Linked DNA regions of Homo sapiens: all the other regions are linked to region 3. Evidence: promoter capture Hi-C in 16 types of primary human blood cells and fetal thymus (Javierre and others, 2016). All regions are on one chromosome and are shown on one strand. The core of a region is centred on a gene start or on the middle of the fragment in contact, and the rest is flanking DNA. Distances in the headings are between cores, read along the strand shown. Region 1 overlaps DCDC1 (doublecortin domain containing 1). Region 2 overlaps DNAJC24 (DnaJ heat shock protein family (Hsp40) member C24). Region 3 holds the start of LINC03031 (long intergenic non-protein coding RNA 3031). Region 4 overlaps DCDC1 (doublecortin domain containing 1). Region 5 overlaps DCDC1 (doublecortin domain containing 1).

Region 1 (3,283 bases), core at 666-3,165, 920 kb before region 3:
GCCAATACTTGAAATTTCAGTTAGAGATTCACTCCTTTGTCACAATTAAAATGCCACAGCTGCATGAGGGGAAATTATATTCAGCCTCATTGGTTATTGATCCTCTAAGGCTGTGATTTTCAATCGCAGCTTTCTGGTACCCCTCAGAGGCCTAGGGTAGGCTGGGATTAGGGGGTTGGGCAACAGTGGTTTCACACGGGGAATCAGATCTGATGAGTGACTATGTGGAAGCAGCCACTATCCTGGCTTCAAACAGGGTAGATCCTACTTTTATCTATTTTACATAGTAGATTCCAAGAAAGAATTTTGATTTCAGGAAAAAAAAAAAAATTCTAAACTACTATCTTAGCTCAAAACAAAGAATGGCATGTCTCTTTCCTAAGAGCAAGTTTTGAGCAAAGGGTGGTAATAAGAGCCTGGGTTATCTGCCAGCCCTAATGGAGGGCTGGAGCAGAGGAAGGGCCAAAGGAGACTCCTGTAAAATGGCCCTCATCAGCTTCTCAGTGATCTTGGGAGTGGGCCCACATTCCTTCCTTGTAAGTATCTAAACTCACTTTCCATTGTTTTCTTATAGTATTTTTTTAAATAGTCTTACCCCATTTTGCTGTGACTATTGACAAAAAATAAGGCATATGTTTCTGCAAAAAAAAAACAAAAAATCAATTTGTATCCAATTGCAAATCTAAGTTCAATATATGAAAATGTTTAAAACTTTCCAGAAGACAGTGGCAAAGGAAATTTGCTTGCGTGTCATGTCCTAAGCCAAGTAATTTCAAAAAGCCCTTTATAAATGGAATATCTCAAGAAGAATTGCAACAAGGATTTCACTTTGTCTAAATTAACTTAATCCCTAAAATTATATTTAATCGGGATTAAAATATCAGGCATGTGGGTCCTGTCAGTAGCTGAGTATGATGTATTTTGTAAAAAGAGCTTGGTAAATAAAGGTTTTTGGAGTTTCCTGGCACCAATATATTTATTTTTATAGAAAGTCAGTGTTTTTTTGATGAGAAAAACATAGTCATGTGCCCCTCAAATTTTATTTTACTAGGAGAAATGAACATTGTAGGATTAAATATAAACTAAATCATCAAACTTTCCCCAAATTATCAGCCTTATAGATCATATTCTTACCCTTGGAAAGAGTGTATGCTTTTACTGCCATTCAGTTTCATTTCTTTATATCAAATATGCCTGTAAACATAATTTTCCCCTAAAGTGAATGAGTATCCTGAGAAACTAAAAGCTGTACAAAAGCTTACTATCTATAATAAAACATTTATATTTTAAGAAGTAATCCATTTTTTTCATCATAAAACACAATCAAAACTAGGTAGAATCTTAAGTAGGTGTAAATTCATCACCCCATTTTCACTTACGAGAAAATCTGCATTCATTTATGTTCAAATGAAGAATTTATGCTCGATAACGTTCATGGTGAGTCAGACTAACATAGATGTCAGTCGGTAATCCAGGGGACGGGAACATATGTAGGAAAGGAATCTCAGCAACTTGAACATATCAAACACTCCGTGAAAAAGCTAATTGAGAGGTAAAAACAAATTAACTGTTATGGAGAAGGACAATCTCACTGAGAGAGAGTGTGTGCCTGCAACAGTAAGGTTCAGTGGTTGCATTTAGTCCGAATAACTGCTGGGACAGTAATACAGCTCTGGCCTGTGGACTTTCCCCGCTGACTGCCCACCTGGCAATTCTCCGGGCACCTTCTAGGATGTCAGGCCTGCACAGGGAAAGCCTGTCTCATTATAACAGGCACTGCATGGGAGCTAATGCCCAGACCAATTGCTCTTCCCTGATTTTGATACAGACGCAGTTTTTCTCTTCAGCACATCTTGAAAAGGAAGATTGTATCTTCCTACGGAGATTTACACCTGACTGCAGATGCCTGTCAGAAAATAAGGTAGTATGAATATACTGGCATTTTCCCCCCAAAATCCACAAAGAGGAGGAGGAGTGGGGCAATGAGGACAGGAGGAAGAAAAGGTGGTGGCAAGATGGAAAAGAGCGCTGCAAAGAAGAGTCAAGAGATTTCAGCACCTGCCGCTAATTAGCTATCACATGAGATGTGTAAAGGCTTCGTAGGATCTGTTTCTTTACCTTTAAAATGGGCAGTCCAATATTTTCCTACTATCGTAAAACCTACATATGAAAATTGATCATCTTCATTACATTTTGCCCAACCTTTAGTGAATGTTCTCAAAATCACAATAACCTTGAATATTCCAATTTTGCTACTCTCACCACAATTCCTTTTCAAATGAACGCAAAGTTGGCATGTTTTACTAACTGTACCTAAGCCATATCCTAAATTTGTTTCCCATTGTTTACTCAAATAATTTAGGTGACATAACAGAGCATCCTAGGGGTTATAAATACATGTTTAGGAAAAGTGGTTAAATAAGAACGACACGGATCAAGGAATGTACAATGGAAATAACGTAATATGCACATAGAACAGTGAAAACACCAACCAAAAAAAATCTTGTCACACTTTCATGTGCAACTGACCTTAGTTATCATTTAATTGTTCCATAGATTCCTAAATATTAAAATAAGCTTTCTATTAATACAAATGAATGATTGGAAACTTTAAACTTTTTTAAAAATGACCACAAAATAGAAGGCAAATCTCAACTTCTTTCATGGTGCTTTTGTGCCATTCAAAGAATAAATTTAAGTATTCAATGCACAGGAAAGTCACATGTTTTCTGTTACCAACCAAATTAGCCCATTTTCAAAATGTAAAGAGGCCTGGGAACTTAAAATAATGGAATTGTAGTAAAAAGGTAAGAAGATGAACAGATTGGTTTTGCTAATCTGTTCATAGTGTTGTCATATTGTTTCTAATTGTATGAAAATAATCGTGGCCTTGGGTCAAAAAGGTGTTCTATGCTTCTCTGCATCTTCCCACAGTTCCTAGCACAATGTCTTCTGGACAAGGCTATTTGATAATATGTGGATTTACTGGACTATTCATTTAAAATCTTCTTCCTTTCTGTCATTGGCAGAATAAAAATTGTTAGATGCATACAACCTGGATGATGAACTAGATGCTGGATGAAGACATCCTTTAAAAAAGAAATCTCTGAATTATCCCTTTAACAAAGCTTAAATTTACTTACAATAGAAGAGAACACTATAACTAAACAATATAAAAATAGAAAGCCTAAAAATGTCTCCAAATCAGAGTGCTATGAATCTTGTTATTATCCAGGTTACTAAATTCCACCATATTTCTCTTGCTCATGGTCAGAGTGGATTT
Region 2 (3,635 bases), core at 683-3,182, 630 kb before region 3:
TCAAGCGCCTGCTACATAGGCAAAAGGGGGGCCAAAATTAGCCTTTTATAAGGAATCCACTCCAGAAATATAACATTAGTCTATTCATGAGGGCAGAGCAGTCATGGCCCAATCACTGCTGAAAGGTACTACCTCCTAGTACTGTCACAATGACAATGAAATTTAACATGAGTTTTGGATTGGGCACACGTTCAAATCATAGCAGCTACAAATCCTTTTTTTTTTCCAAATGTATTCTTTTGAATGCATTCCTCTTAGTGTTTGTTTCCTCTATATCTCATTCCTCAATTTGAAAAGTATTTGAAGGGAGATCATTGGGCTGAAGCATTTTCATATCATTTTTTCATAGTTTCAATGTAATAGAATGACATAGTAAATACTTGTTCACTAGGAAAGAGTATGAGAGAAAAGGCACTTAAGTGCAGTACCTCAGACTAAACCTAAAATTTATCTCTCCTCCTGTATGTTGCTGACTAAAATCAGTAAGTTTCATATTTTGTACTTTTGGGGAAAATATTAAACACACAGCTTAAATATACAAATATTTATGAAGGATACTTGTGCGAAGAGGCACTGTGCTGATCTTTGCACAGATATGGATATAGTTAAAATACGGTGTTTATATATTCAGTGTTTAATACTTGTAATAGATAAAGCTTGAATGGTAGGTTGTGGTTCTTATATTGTAGGACTTTACTTTTAAGGATAAAGAGTTTCACTGTAATTCACTATGCATTAGTTGGCCCTTTAAAATTTATGAGCTGGGGAATGACATGGTCAGAGTTATGTTGAGTGACTTTGAAGCAGGTAAGATGGATTGGAAAGCTGTTAGAAGATGATTGCTGGGGACTAGTTAGGAGCTAATGTTGGTCTGTACTAGGTTTGGTATTGGGAATAGAAAGGAAATTATGTAGGTATAATCTATAGATTTGGCAGTTCATGGGAGGAGGGAAAGAGGGGTTACCCTAATATTGATAGTCTGGATTATTAGAAAAATTTTTCCCCTCTCATCCATTCATTTAGCATTTATTGAGCGTGGAGTTATTTTTTAACAGAGCAAGGAATTCAACAGGAGGATAAACAAATTTTAGAGTCTGGATAATATATTGGATATCAAACATATTAAACTTGTGCTGACAAGGTAGCTTCTAGAAAGTATTTCAAAATTTGGTTCTAGAATTCAAGAAAATTTGAAGCTAGAGACAGAGAGCTAGCATCCTATTGATGGTACTAAAACTCATCTATTAATACATAGGGAAAACCAAAGTGCTATGTCCTCAAGTGCCACATTGATAAATCAAGTAATATTAGCCTATTTGGGGATTTCTGTGTAATCAGATTTGCCCAGAGTCCTTTTCATGGTTTATTGTTACTTCTTATGTATAGTTTATATTTTATGTATCAAAACAGCACAATCACAAGTGTGTAGTTAAGGATTAATATATGTAGCCACTTTACCATAAAACTCTTACGTGTTTACTGTAAAGAAATATCATTTCATTTCAACTTTATATGTTGTGTAGCCAATAGAAAATATCATTTGGAGCTAATGAATATATAATATTCACAAGGTGGATGGATTACTTGAGTCTTGGAGTTGGAGACCAGCCTGGGCAATATGGAAACCTCATCTCTACAGAAAATACAAAAATTAGCCAGGTGCGGTGGTATATGCCTGTGGTTCCAGCTACTTGGGAGGCTGAGGCGGGAGGATCGCTTGAGCCTGGGAGGCAGAGGTTGCAGTGAGCCAGGATCACTCCATTACACTCCAGCCCAGATGACAGAGAGAGATCCCATCTCAAAAAAAAAAAAAAAAAAAAAAATATATATATATATATATAAAATTTTTCACTAAAATCTTTTAGAAGTTGCTAGAATTTTCACACTGCATTGTATGATGCTATTTTCATAATTTTACATGCTTCATTTCTTAGTTGAAAAACTTGTTTCTGTGCTAAATTTATCAGTGGGTATCATCATTAGTGTTAAGTAGGTGAAGCCTGATACAAATTATGCCCCTCTCTTAAAAAAAAAAAAATAAACAGGTTAAAATACCACTGGCATATTGTTCACATTTCATCAGCATCTTCATCTGTGACATAAGATGGTATCAATACAAACAGTGGAATGAAGAAGTTGACATTTATGATTAGTGAACGAAAGGTATCAAATATAAAAAAAATTCCGACTTGAAACACATTGCAATTTTCATTGTGGTGTTACAGGTTATTGGATTTTTTCCCCCTCTTTTTGGTGTACATACTTGGAAGGACGCATCTGTCACAGGAAAATTTTTGTGAAGCACTCATCTTCTGACTTGCCCATGAATTCCTTGTTTTAAGCAGTCAAGGCAAACAGTGTGCTTCTCAAATTTTAGCACGCGTAACAGTTGCTTGGAGAGCTTGGTGAAACAGAGATTCTGGAGTCCTCCCTCTGAAGATTTGAGGTGAGTCCCAAGAATTGATATTTGTAACAAGCTCTCAGATGATGCTGATGCTGCAGTTCTGAGGACCACATTTTGAGTAGCACTGAGGTGACACATTGTGACAGTCACTCTGGAATTAGTAATTTAGAAAGCACTTAGACTTAATATGTAGAGAGACTTTAAAATCAAAATAAAATATTTCATACTGGACAGCCCATTGCCATAAAATCTCAGCTGATGAGAATTAAGATTTCATAACTGAAGTGTTACTTATCCATGAAATAGTCATTTAGAAAACAGATAACACATACCAATCCTGATGAAATATTATATCATTTCCTGTATATCTTTTGTAGTACCATGAATGATCCTTTATTTTTGTATCAAGAAAGTTTCTTAATCTATTTTTGTGTTAGTTTTTCTTATTCTCAATGAATGATATGGTAATTTAAAGAAGAATTTAAGTTTATGTAATTGAAAATTTTCCCCAAAATTTGAGGAAATTACTTAGATCATACAGTTATAGGTGTGAAGTCATTTCAGAGTAATAAAATAGCACTTTACTGAAATTTTGGAAATAGATGTCTTTGTATAATAAAGAATCACACAGATACTATCACTCTCAGTATTTCTAATATTGTGACATATTTATGGTATTTTAATTTTGGATGCATTTTGGCTTTCTACTCAACAATGCTTAGCCTTTTAAAATGTTTTGAAGTTATTAGAGTTGGCAAATGTGCTTGAAAGTAATAAAACAATTTCCATAAACTAGTGTGTAATTCAAGCTTTTCACTAATTCATGTTAGTTTTTCCATTAATTTTTTGGTTTTCTGTTGTACTTGTTTTTCTATTAATGGAAGAAATTCCTTATTTTTCCTTTATGGCTTAGAAAGATTTGCTAAATTCCTTTTTAAAAATTTAGACATGTCTGAAGATGTTTTTCTGTTGATATTGTCAACATAAAATGAAAAATGCACAGATCTTAAGTGTTAAGTTTGGTGAGTTTGATATCATGTAAATACCACCCCAAATAAGATATAGCACATTTCTGTGCCTCCAGCAAGTTCCCTCATGCCCCTCTTTCTTAATTTCCACTACCTGTTCTCACCTGGAAACCAACTTTTTGGTTTCTGTCGCCACAGATTAAATGTACCTAAATTGGGATTTCATGTTCATGTAATCATACAGTATGTACTTTTTGTTCTTG
Region 3 (3,536 bases), core at 331-2,830:
TGAATTCAAGCTCTACCAGGGTTCCAGTGTTAAACTTGGAAGGTGCTCACGGCCACGCTCAGCCTTACTGTAGGATATTACTTGAGTGAGTGCACACCCTCCCCACAAACTGAAGTTCTACTACACGCCTTCACTCATCTCCTACCACTCTTACTGGGTTGCATTTCAGCCTCACTGGCCTGCTTTCCTTCCTTGAACTTGCTAAATCCACTTCTGACTTAGGATCTTCCCACCATTTCCTTTGCCCAGAATGTTCTTTCTCCCCTGGCTCCTTCATGATACTGAGGTCTTCAGCATAAGCATCATATCCTCAAAGAAACCTTCCCGTATCACCCTGTTCCAGGCCTTTATTGTTGCCACACCAAAACAGTGGCTTAAACATTAATAATTATTTATTTGGCTCTGGAGTCTGAAAGAGTGAGATCTCAGCTTAGGAGTTCTCACTCCAGGTCTTTCATGTGGTTGCTGTCCAATGGGCATCTTGAAGTTTTTTCCATCATGTATCTGGGCTGGGAAGATTCAAACATCTAGGTGCTGGCACTGCTAGCTGCTCAGGTCTCTCTCTCTCTCATTCCTCTGAATTGTCTGTCCACATGGAGACTTCATGATAGCTGGACTTCTTACATTCAGCTGAAGGCACCTAGAGTGAATGTTCCAAGAAAAATCAGCAGAAGCTGCATGGCCTTTTCAAACTGATAGCCACTTCCTTTGTGTCCTATTCTTCCAGGTAGGTACAGAAGCCCCTCAGGTGCAAGGGGAAGGGACATAGACTCTACCTACTAGTAGAACAGTATCGAAGTACCTGAAGACTTGCTTTAAGACCACCACACACTACATACTTTATAAAACAGCCTCCCCAGCACCATATCACTTCACTTTATTATAATTCTTTGCATAGCCCATAGTGCTATATGTCATATTTTCTTATTTGTTTATTTTCTCTCTAGCCCCCAAAAGAATATAAATTGTGAAAATAGGGGCCTTATGTGTCTTATTCACCACTGTATCCTGGTGTTCAGTGGAGCAGTGCCTGGTACTTAGTAGACAATAAGTATCTATCAAATATTAATAAGTGAATGAAGGATAAATGGCAAGGGCTATTCTGAAGGGTCATCTCACTGAGATTGTTACTGTGGGCTCCATTTTGGATGACGATGGACCCTCCTCACCCTCCTTTTTCTACTTCCTTCTTTTTACCTCCCTTCCCTCTCTCCCACAAAATAATTTCTAATCACCGATGTCAGTATTTCAAACCTGGAGTCCTTAGTATAATTGTGATCCATTGGATTCAGCTTTTACCACCTTGTTTTTGAAAACAAACATACCAAAGCATGCCAATTTCATCATTTGGGTATGTCAAGGATACTTACACAAGCCTGCACCTGGCTTATTTTACAAATCACAGATTGGCTTGAATCTGTCTTTTGTTTCTTAGGATTTTTTGGTTGGTTTTGCTTTGTTTTTTTGCTTTCCTTCCAGCCAGATAAGCTGAGATCTGGTCTGTTTCCACTGAGGGGTAGTCATCAGTCTACCCTTCTCAACATTTCTGTTCCTGAGATTTAGCTACAGACTTCACAAGCTGTAACATTCTAACTACGTGTCATTGCCACCATTGTCTCTTGTCACAATCCTAATTCTATGTTCTGATAATAAAACTTCATTAGTGTCTGCACCTCCTTTCCCGTACCTTTGAAACACTGTCTTCTGCTGAAACGATTAGCAGTGCGCTGCGTCAGATCATCCGGCTGTCTGACAGCCATTGTGAGTGAGCTAAATTGTGAGAAAATGAAAATTTCTGACAATTTCCATTATTGTCAAATGGAGATATTTACTTGTACAAATATTAAAGGTTATTTAAAGATGTAAACGGACTTCATTTCATTAGTGGTATGCATCAGGTAATAATTTAAAACAACTACCCAGCCTCATTCAAATAAATTACCAATTCATTTTCTGAAAGAAAAATGTCATTTCTCCAGGCTGTGTTTTTAACTGCTTGCAATGGTAGAAGATTAAAAAAAAAAAACCTATGAATATTTCAGAACAGAAAATGTTCAAGTTCTCATATTGTTTAACATAAACCAGACAAAGGGCTATTGTTCTGAAAACCTGACTGAGAGTTGCCCAACCAGAGGAGACAGTGAAAGATCAATGACATCAAAATGGGCTTTAAAAAAAGGAATAGTAGCAATGGTGATTACATCTTCCTGAATTCCAGTTCTAGAACTTCACTAGAAAAAAATCAGGATGTGTGGAAATACTTATCTACAAGGATGTTCATCCCAGTGTTATTTATAATGGCAAAAAAAGAAGGTAGGAAATGAAAAAAAATATGTATACAAGGCTAAGGGATTGCAGGTGTTTGAGACCAGCCTAGCCAACATGGTAAAACCCCTTCTCTACTAAAAAAAAAAAAAAAAAAAAAATTAGCCAGGCGTGGTGGCGGGTGCCTATAGTCCCAGTTACCCGAGAAGCTGAGGCATGAGAATTGCTTGAAGCTGGGAGGTGGAGGTTGCAGTGAGCCGAGATGGCAACACTGCACTCCAGCCTGGGTGACAGAGAGAAACTCCATCTCAAAAAAAAAAAAGACTAAGGAATTGGACAATATATTAGAATACAGCCATATGATGGTCTGGAGTAAAGATGATTAATAAATGTATTGTAGAAGAATTCATTATAAATAATATGTAATAAATAGGGCACGGTGGCTCATGCCTGTAATCTGAGCACTTCGGAGGCCAAGGCAGAAGGGTTGCTGGAGGCCAAGAGTTTAAGACCAGCCTAGGCAACATAGTGAGACAGTCTCTATAAAGAATTTTTTAAAAATTAGCTGGGCATGGTGGCGCACACCTGTAGTCCCAGTTACTCAGGAGGCTGAGGCAGAAGGATTTTTTTGAGCAGAATAATTCTAAGATGCTGTGAGCTGTGACAGTGCCACTGTACTCCAGCCTGGATGACAGAGTGAGACTCTGACACAAGAAACAAAACAAAACAAACAACAACAAAATAATACATATACTATGATATCATTTATAAAAAGATAAACATCTATATTTGCATTGACATGGACGCAGGGAGGGGAACATTACACACCGGGGCCTGTGGCGGGGTGGGGGGCTAGAGGAGGGATAGCATTAGGAGAAATACCTAATGTAGATGATGGGTTAATGGGTGCAGAAAAACACCATGGCACATGTATACCTATGTAACAAACCTGCACGTTCTGCACATGTATCCCAGAACTTAAAGTATAATAATAATAATAATAAAAAAATCTTGGTGTAATGTTGGACAACAAAAAAAAAAAGGAAGAGAAGGACTAAGAAGAAATAGATCAAAATGATTACTTGGTAGTGGGATCACTGGTAAGTTTTTAATTTTCATGGGTACATAGTAGATGTATATATTTCTGGGGTACACGAGATGCTTTAATACAGGCATACAGTGTGAAATAATCACATCATGGAGAATGGGGCATCCATGCCCTCAAGCATTTATCCTGTGTGTATTACAAACAATCCAATTACACTCTTAGT
Region 4 (3,274 bases), core at 409-2,908, 820 kb before region 3:
TTTGGTCTGTGCTGATTTGCATATTTGAAAATAGGTAAGTCTATTTGTAAGTATATACAAATTTTTATGTATAATCTGAACTATATGGACTTCAAAGTGATTTTAAGTCAATTTTTTAAAAAACTAAGTTTTTAGATACTCTGATCTGGAGGACTATAAACAACTCCGGTCGATTTTGAAAAGCTGTCATAGTAAGTTAAATCACAAATGGGTCAAGTATATATGTATACAAAGGAAGAGCACAAACTAGTCCATATTATCCATCTATAAGTTAGACATAAAATAGAAAACTAGAAGCACCTCTGTAAGAAAAGATCCAAATGTTATCACTGGAAACTATCTTCTACAGAAAAACTATGTACTTCTATATGTGCCATCCCATTGTTTATCCACTGAAACTATTCTGTTTCAGGCAAGGATATACTCAACTCAAAGGGGAATTAATTACTGAAAGACAGGATATTTTAAAAATAAGAAGTAGTAAAACACATATTATTATAAATGATACAACATTTAATCCCACATGCATGCTAATAAGATTTTCTTTCTAAATTTAACAAAAGTCACTAAAGTAATATCTCTTCATTTTTATAGAATTGTCAGAGAAGTAATATGCAAGTGGAATTCAACTGAAAAAATAGATTTTTTCATAATGTGTACTCTATATCTCTGCCCATGTCTCCCAACAAAGATAGTGTGTCCAATCTGTTTTGGCTATTGGCTATTGTTTGAAAATCTATGCTATATATTTCAAAGAAATATCAGCATTACAAAATGCAGAAATATCTCCTCTCTAAAATATGTACCCACTAAGTGGAGAAAACCTTTTTTCCTAAATTTTTATCTTTTACTTTTTATCTTTTGTCATTTGCTTTAAGAAAAAAAAAAGTCGTAATATAAATATTTCCAAAGCAGAAAATATAATTACAGATTTTTTTAATTAATGAGAACATTGAAAAAGAAGAGAAAATATTTCTAATGTGTACTGAAGTTCTCACAAAAGCCAAAACACTAGAAAACTAATGCAATTGATAATACACATTGGTATAAAATACAAGATATTGTCATCATCATTCTTCTCAAAAGCTTTTCTCTTGATACTCTAAGAATAAATGTTTATAGGGAAAAAATTAAAGCAATCACTTCCTTTTCAAATCCAACTTTCTATGTTTCCAATTTCAAGTCACTACTTAAATGTAACAAAAGATTCTGTTTTCCTTAAAGAGACATTCACTTTTTTAAAGCTATTATCATTAGAATGCTGCCTTGATTTTTATTTTCCCTGACATCAGGTTATTTGGGTTACATTTATTGCCCAGTGTCCAATGACATTTGCAGAGAGCTTCCAGAACTAAATTTTATCTTTTATGACATCAGCATAAATATACTTTTATAAAAGAAAAAAAGGGTCATAATAAAATGTAACAGCTAAATGTCAAACAGATGATAAGTTGGAGAGGATTAAAAACTCAGTGTCTAACTCTAAGTAACGTTAATATTTCAAACCTATATTCTAACTTTTAACTTGAAGCTTTCTACCTTCATTCTTCCTCCCTCACTCCCATTAACTAGTATATTAGTTGTGTACCAAAACTGGAAAAATCCCAATATTATGACAAGGTCCTAATTTTTAGTAAAATTTGGTGGGTAGATATGTAATTTTGCTGAAATTAGATGGCAGAGCATTCTGAGCATATGAGGTGCTGCTTTAAAGTAATGAGGCTGATTCTCATGCATGGCTTGAAGAAACAGTGAAGGAGTGATCATAGCAAGGACAAGTTTAAACAAGCTTTGACCTGGAAGAACGGAGCTCCGAAGGCTGGCCAGCCCATGCCTGAGTTGGTGCTAAAGAAGCACACACACTCTCACATACATACACACACACACAGCCCACATTACAAAGCAAACAATTTAGAGCACAAAACAATTTACAGTTAAAAAAAAAAGTAAAAATTTTAGAATAAATTTAGATTTTTAACAAATGTATCTGCAAAATAGTACATGACCTGTAAAAAGAAGCTGGAGGGGATAAAGTTATGTCAAAAACAAGATTTTTTTTAACTGATCTCAAAAATTTCATTAAGAAAATAAGACTCACTCTCACAATACTTCAACCTAGCTTGAGTATCAGAATCAACTCTAGAGCATTTTCAATAAACTAGCCCCCTGGTCCTGCCCAGGTCTGCTGAATATAAACATGAGCAGAGGCGGGACCTATGTGATTCTGATGCTGTCAGGCTTAGAAACCCCTTACTGTAAGACAGAAAATGTTGAAGATATGATATTTAGTGCATTCAAATAAATAATTGAAAGAAAGATGACCAAAGAGTTAAATTTAGTCAAAGAATTAGACTTATTCTAAAAGAAATCTTGAAAAGGGTTTTCATTCTTTCACTGGTTTATCAACAAATATACCAACTAAGGACAAGGCACTGTGCTCGACAAAGGTGGCAGGCAGTGATTGGATATGAGCAGAGAATGATGATATGATGATGGTAATAATAGCTAATATTTATTGTTTTCTATAAGCCAGGCACCATATAAGCACATATAAATTTTACCATTTTTAGGTATTATCTCATTTTTAAGTGTTTACAGGTATAATCTCACAACAATCCTATTATTAACCTCATTTTACAGATAAGAAACCTGAAAACAGGGGTTAGTTAACTTGCCTAAGACCTCAGAGCTGGTTAAACACGAAAGCCTGGACTTGACCTGAAGCAATCTGACTCCAGCCCCCACACCTGAAACAGTACAGGATACTGGATTGGCCAGAAAATTTTTTAAAATTACTCTGAAGATACGCCATGAATTTCATGTGAACAGAAAAAGAGAAGATTTAATAACAATAACCCTATATTCTAGGAAGTCCATGTCAAAATCACCAGTGAAGATAATTTTATTTCTTTGACACAAATGACATTCTTATAAAATTCATACCACAAAATAAAACACTCAATAAGGATTATCATGTACAATTCCTGAAGCATTTAGAAGAATCTTTGAAACGTGTAATGGGCAATATTTATCTAGGAATTAGGTCCTAATGAAAATACGCAGCTTCATAATATATTCTTGATGAAACTATTTTTGATACTTAATACTAAATGTTTCACCAAATTTAACAAAAATTACTTTTTGAATTTCCAAAAATTTAAATTCACACTGCAAAGATGTAAACATCATCACTGACAATATTCAAAAGAATGCAATTAAGGTAAATCCAAAATGGTTTTGAGCAAGGCAGTATTGCTAAAATAACCTCACAAGA
Region 5 (3,279 bases), core at 774-3,273, 950 kb before region 3:
TTCCTAAATCAGAAAAAAACAAATAAGAAGGACACTTACAGTCCGTTACAAGCCAGCATTTTTTGGTCTCTGTGATTATTCTTTCACAGTTCAATGTTTTGTATTCAGAAGATGGAAAAAGGTTATGAATATACACAAAAATTTAAGTTTGTTAATTAACAATCAAAATGGATATAAAGAAATGAGTTCTGATAATTATAGAGTAAAGCAGCAGTTTGTCTACGACATAGATACATGTTGAAGGCCAACATTTCACCTTTTAAATATCTTTAAAACACTACCAAACTAAGTGGCATACATTTTCAAGCTTACTTTGGATTCAGAAATTAATATTGTTATTATGAACACAAATTTAAACATTGAATGAATATTCAATCCAAACCAGGAGGCATCACAATTGAACTGCTCAGAATTCTTGAAATTAGCATTTATTATCTTGAGCTAAATAATTTATAAGCATTACCTTTTCTGTAAGATTAATTTATATCCTTCTAGTGATGTTCCCTCAGCAGCCTTGACTCTGATAGGATGACCAATAGCCAGGCAGCCCTGAGTTATCGCTCGGCTCAGGATCATTCCAGTCTTCCAATGAATAGAGAGGGGGAGAAAGGTCTAAATAAGTTAAAAGAACCAGAAAATTCAACAATGTGTCACAAATAGTGAGGTCATTATGCCTGGATAACCCTGGATATTAACAGTTGCTGAAAGTGAAACACTACCCACAACTTAGCAGTCAGCGAGCCCTGCTCAGAATCAGTAATCTTCTGTCCAACAAGGGTGGCATTTTACAGTTCAGTGCGAAATAAAACAGACCTTGATATCTTCATTTGTCTTTTTTTTTCTGTGCATATTTCACAGTGCAGCAATTTGGGGTCCATCACGTGTCACTTGCTGTAGTTATAACTACAGAGCTTACCGGAAATATGTATGCACAGAAAAAAAATAGTGCAGTGAACTGAAAAGACTGAAACAAATCCTTAACCTTTGTATCAATTTAAAGTTTTACTCTGGGTCTAAATATCATGGGTTAAACATTTTAAGGTGGTTTGTGAACTGCTTTTATTTTAAATGTTAGGATTTTCTGCCAAGGAAATTAAAGGGGAATATTGCTTGAAGGGCCATTTAACCATTTTCTTACTTAGTGAGTCAACACAACATTTTTTATAAGTGACAACCATAGAGAAATTTGTCTACATCTACTGGAGATTTATGGCACGTAAAATTCTCTCTTAATAGGTAAAAAGATGTATTTTTAAAACAGGAAGAGAGAGTTCAATCTTAAAGGATTTTCAGAATTGTTTCCTTTTTAGCATATACTTTATTTCTCATGTGTTTGCAGTGTGGAAAAGAAACATGATGATGACTGATGACTTACGAAAAATATTTCTAAAAAAAATTGGTTTTAGTAAGTACTGAATGAAATCCTTGTTTGATCATGCTTGTCTATACAGAAAAAAGAACTGCTTAGGGTGAGGAAAGGCAGCCATCATTTATTAAGCACTTTCTGTATACCAGACACCATGCTTGAACATCACATATGCTTTCTCATTTCATCTTCACAGCAACTGTGCAAAGCAGATAAGACTAACATCATTTATAGAAGAGAAAACAGTAGTTCAATGCAGCTAAGTAACTTTCCCAATGTCACACAAGAGATTTCAATTATTTAATAACTCCAAAACTATACTCTTTTGGTAGGCATTCCAATTATTTTTGAGGAGATTTTAGACAAGTACATGTTTTCTGCTATCATGAAATTCTAGAAACAGATACCATGAAATGAAAGAATATGGGATCTGAGAATGGACCTTCCATAGCAACTGGTCCAACTCTTTTTGATAGAACACCAAGGCCTAGATACCATGTGTGACTTGTCTGCTGTCATATAGTTATTCAGTGGCAGTGCTGGGACTAAAACACTTCCATTATGCTCACAGGTGAGTCAAATATAGAGGAGTGTTTTATATCACAATGAAAGTTCTGAAGTCAAAGAGACCAAGAATCTTTCTTCTGCTATTACTAACCTCAGTTTCTTCAGCTGTATAATAAAAATCTGCACAGTTCTTGTAACATTAAATGAAATAATGAATGTGAATAAAGTACCTAATGTAATGTCTGACATACAGTATTCAACTAAGTGGAGATGTTATTATTATTAAATCAGAAACAAAATACCATGTAAAAAGGGCAAATAGTTAACATAGACTCCAGCTGGAAATCCAGATTTCAGGAAAAGCTCATGTAAACTTACTATGCTGTGATATATGAAATAAATAATATGTCTTAGTACCTTTGTGTCTTAATTATTCTATATGTTTGTTTTTAACTTTTAAAGAACAATAGCTAAGGGCAATCCAAAATTTCATTTGCGAAAATAGTGTCAATCTTCCCTCCTCCCAGCAAACTTCATTGGGTGACTTCGCATTCACAGGAGTGCTAAGTAGTAGCAAAATCATCTGTGATGACGGGACAAAGGGAGATACAGGAAAGATAATTGTGAACTGCATCATCTCTTTTCAACATAAATACATATTTACAAAATGTACTGCAGTAGTAAGATGAAAGGAAAGGACAATTTTATGTTCTTCTATAAGTCATATACAATAGTACAATAATAAAGTGAAAAATATTAAATATTACCAACACACAGGAACAAAATGTGTTAGGCACTGCTCATGTTTATACTCAGGGATTTCTTTTAAAACTACGTCCTTGCTAAGACAATATGCAAAGTTGGTATATGTTGGTAATCTACCAGGCTCAGGAAAGCTGAGGGGTAAAACTCAAAATGAAGATCTAGGAGTAGAAGCACATTCAGACAAATCTCATGAAAATGATGAGTCTGTGGACTACAAACAAATTCTATGCTTGGTTTAAATACACTGTGAGGTATAAACTAATCAGCAGCATGTCTGATAGTGAACTGAATGCTCATTTGAGAATCTACAGAAGTCCCGTGGGCTAGGCAATACCAACGGCAGAGATGGCATCTATAACAGCCAACAATTTATCACGCTTTCACTTGTATGCCCATGTGCATGAGAGCACCAGGTGCCAGCAAGTGCCGTGAGCCAGCAAGCAAGGGGAGGTCACTCAGCAAAAGCAGACACTCTTAGGTACCTTGGTGATCAGCCACACACTGGCTACAGGCCACAGGATCGATGGCGCTATTTGACTCCTGCTGCTTGCTTCACTGCCTGAGAAACTCCACTTTCCAATGGAAACAGAGGCATGAAGGACAATATTGGGATCTACCTGTATCATAAGAAGAAGTATGCA

The links. Contacts are between HindIII fragments. The CHiCAGO score rates a contact against its expected background, and 5 or more counts as called.
Region 1: a contact is called between a fragment that was not itself captured here and the fragment with the promoter of LINC03031 in region 3, in 2 of 17 cell types (naive CD8 T cells and endothelial precursors). The highest score is 7.1, in naive CD8 T cells.
Region 2: a contact is called between a fragment that was not itself captured here and the fragment with the promoter of LINC03031 in region 3, in 3 of 17 cell types (naive CD8 T cells, naive CD4 T cells and megakaryocytes). The highest score is 6.3, in naive CD8 T cells.
Region 4: a contact is called between a fragment that was not itself captured here and the fragment with the promoter of LINC03031 in region 3, in 3 of 17 cell types (naive CD8 T cells, total CD4 T cells and endothelial precursors). The highest score is 6.9, in naive CD8 T cells.
Region 5: a fragment that was not itself captured here is called in contact with the fragment with the promoter of LINC03031 in region 3 in 1 of 17 cell types (non-activated CD4 T cells); the score reaches 5.1 in non-activated CD4 T cells.

What each region holds. Positions count from the first base shown.
Region 1 is chr11:31,117,064-31,120,346 of GRCh38, forward strand. The region is part of intron 11 of DCDC1 (doublecortin domain containing 1); the gene reads right to left. Among named protein-coding and RNA genes, the nearest start is that of DCDC1, 250 kb to the right of the region's middle. The HindIII fragment of the contact is 1,320 bases long and covers 1,256-2,575 here.
Region 2 is chr11:31,405,885-31,409,519 of GRCh38, forward strand. The region is part of intron 2 of DNAJC24 (DnaJ heat shock protein family (Hsp40) member C24); the gene reads left to right. Among named protein-coding and RNA genes, the nearest start is that of DNAJC24, 38 kb to the left of the region's middle. The HindIII fragment of the contact is 2,557 bases long and covers 655-3,211 here.
Region 3 is chr11:32,039,738-32,043,273 of GRCh38, forward strand. It overlaps LINC03031 (long intergenic non-protein coding RNA 3031), which reads right to left and starts at 1,581. Exons shown (of 3, transcript NR_120526.1): 1 at 1,371-1,581. It overlaps LOC105376613 (a long non-coding RNA gene), which reads left to right and starts at 2,227. Exons shown (of 3, transcript XR_931165.3): 1 at 2,227-2,313. The HindIII fragment of the contact is 15,155 bases long and covers 1-3,536 here.
Region 4 is chr11:31,217,238-31,220,511 of GRCh38, forward strand. The region is part of intron 9 of DCDC1 (doublecortin domain containing 1); the gene reads right to left. Among named protein-coding and RNA genes, the nearest start is that of DCDC1, 150 kb to the right of the region's middle. The HindIII fragment of the contact is 258 bases long and covers 1,530-1,787 here.
Region 5 is chr11:31,090,930-31,094,208 of GRCh38, forward strand. DCDC1 (doublecortin domain containing 1) reads right to left here. Exons shown (of 39, transcript NM_001387274.1): 16 at 3,121-3,255; 17 at 464-582. Among named protein-coding and RNA genes, the nearest start is that of DCDC1, 280 kb to the right of the region's middle. The HindIII fragment of the contact is 3,436 bases long and covers 306-3,279 here.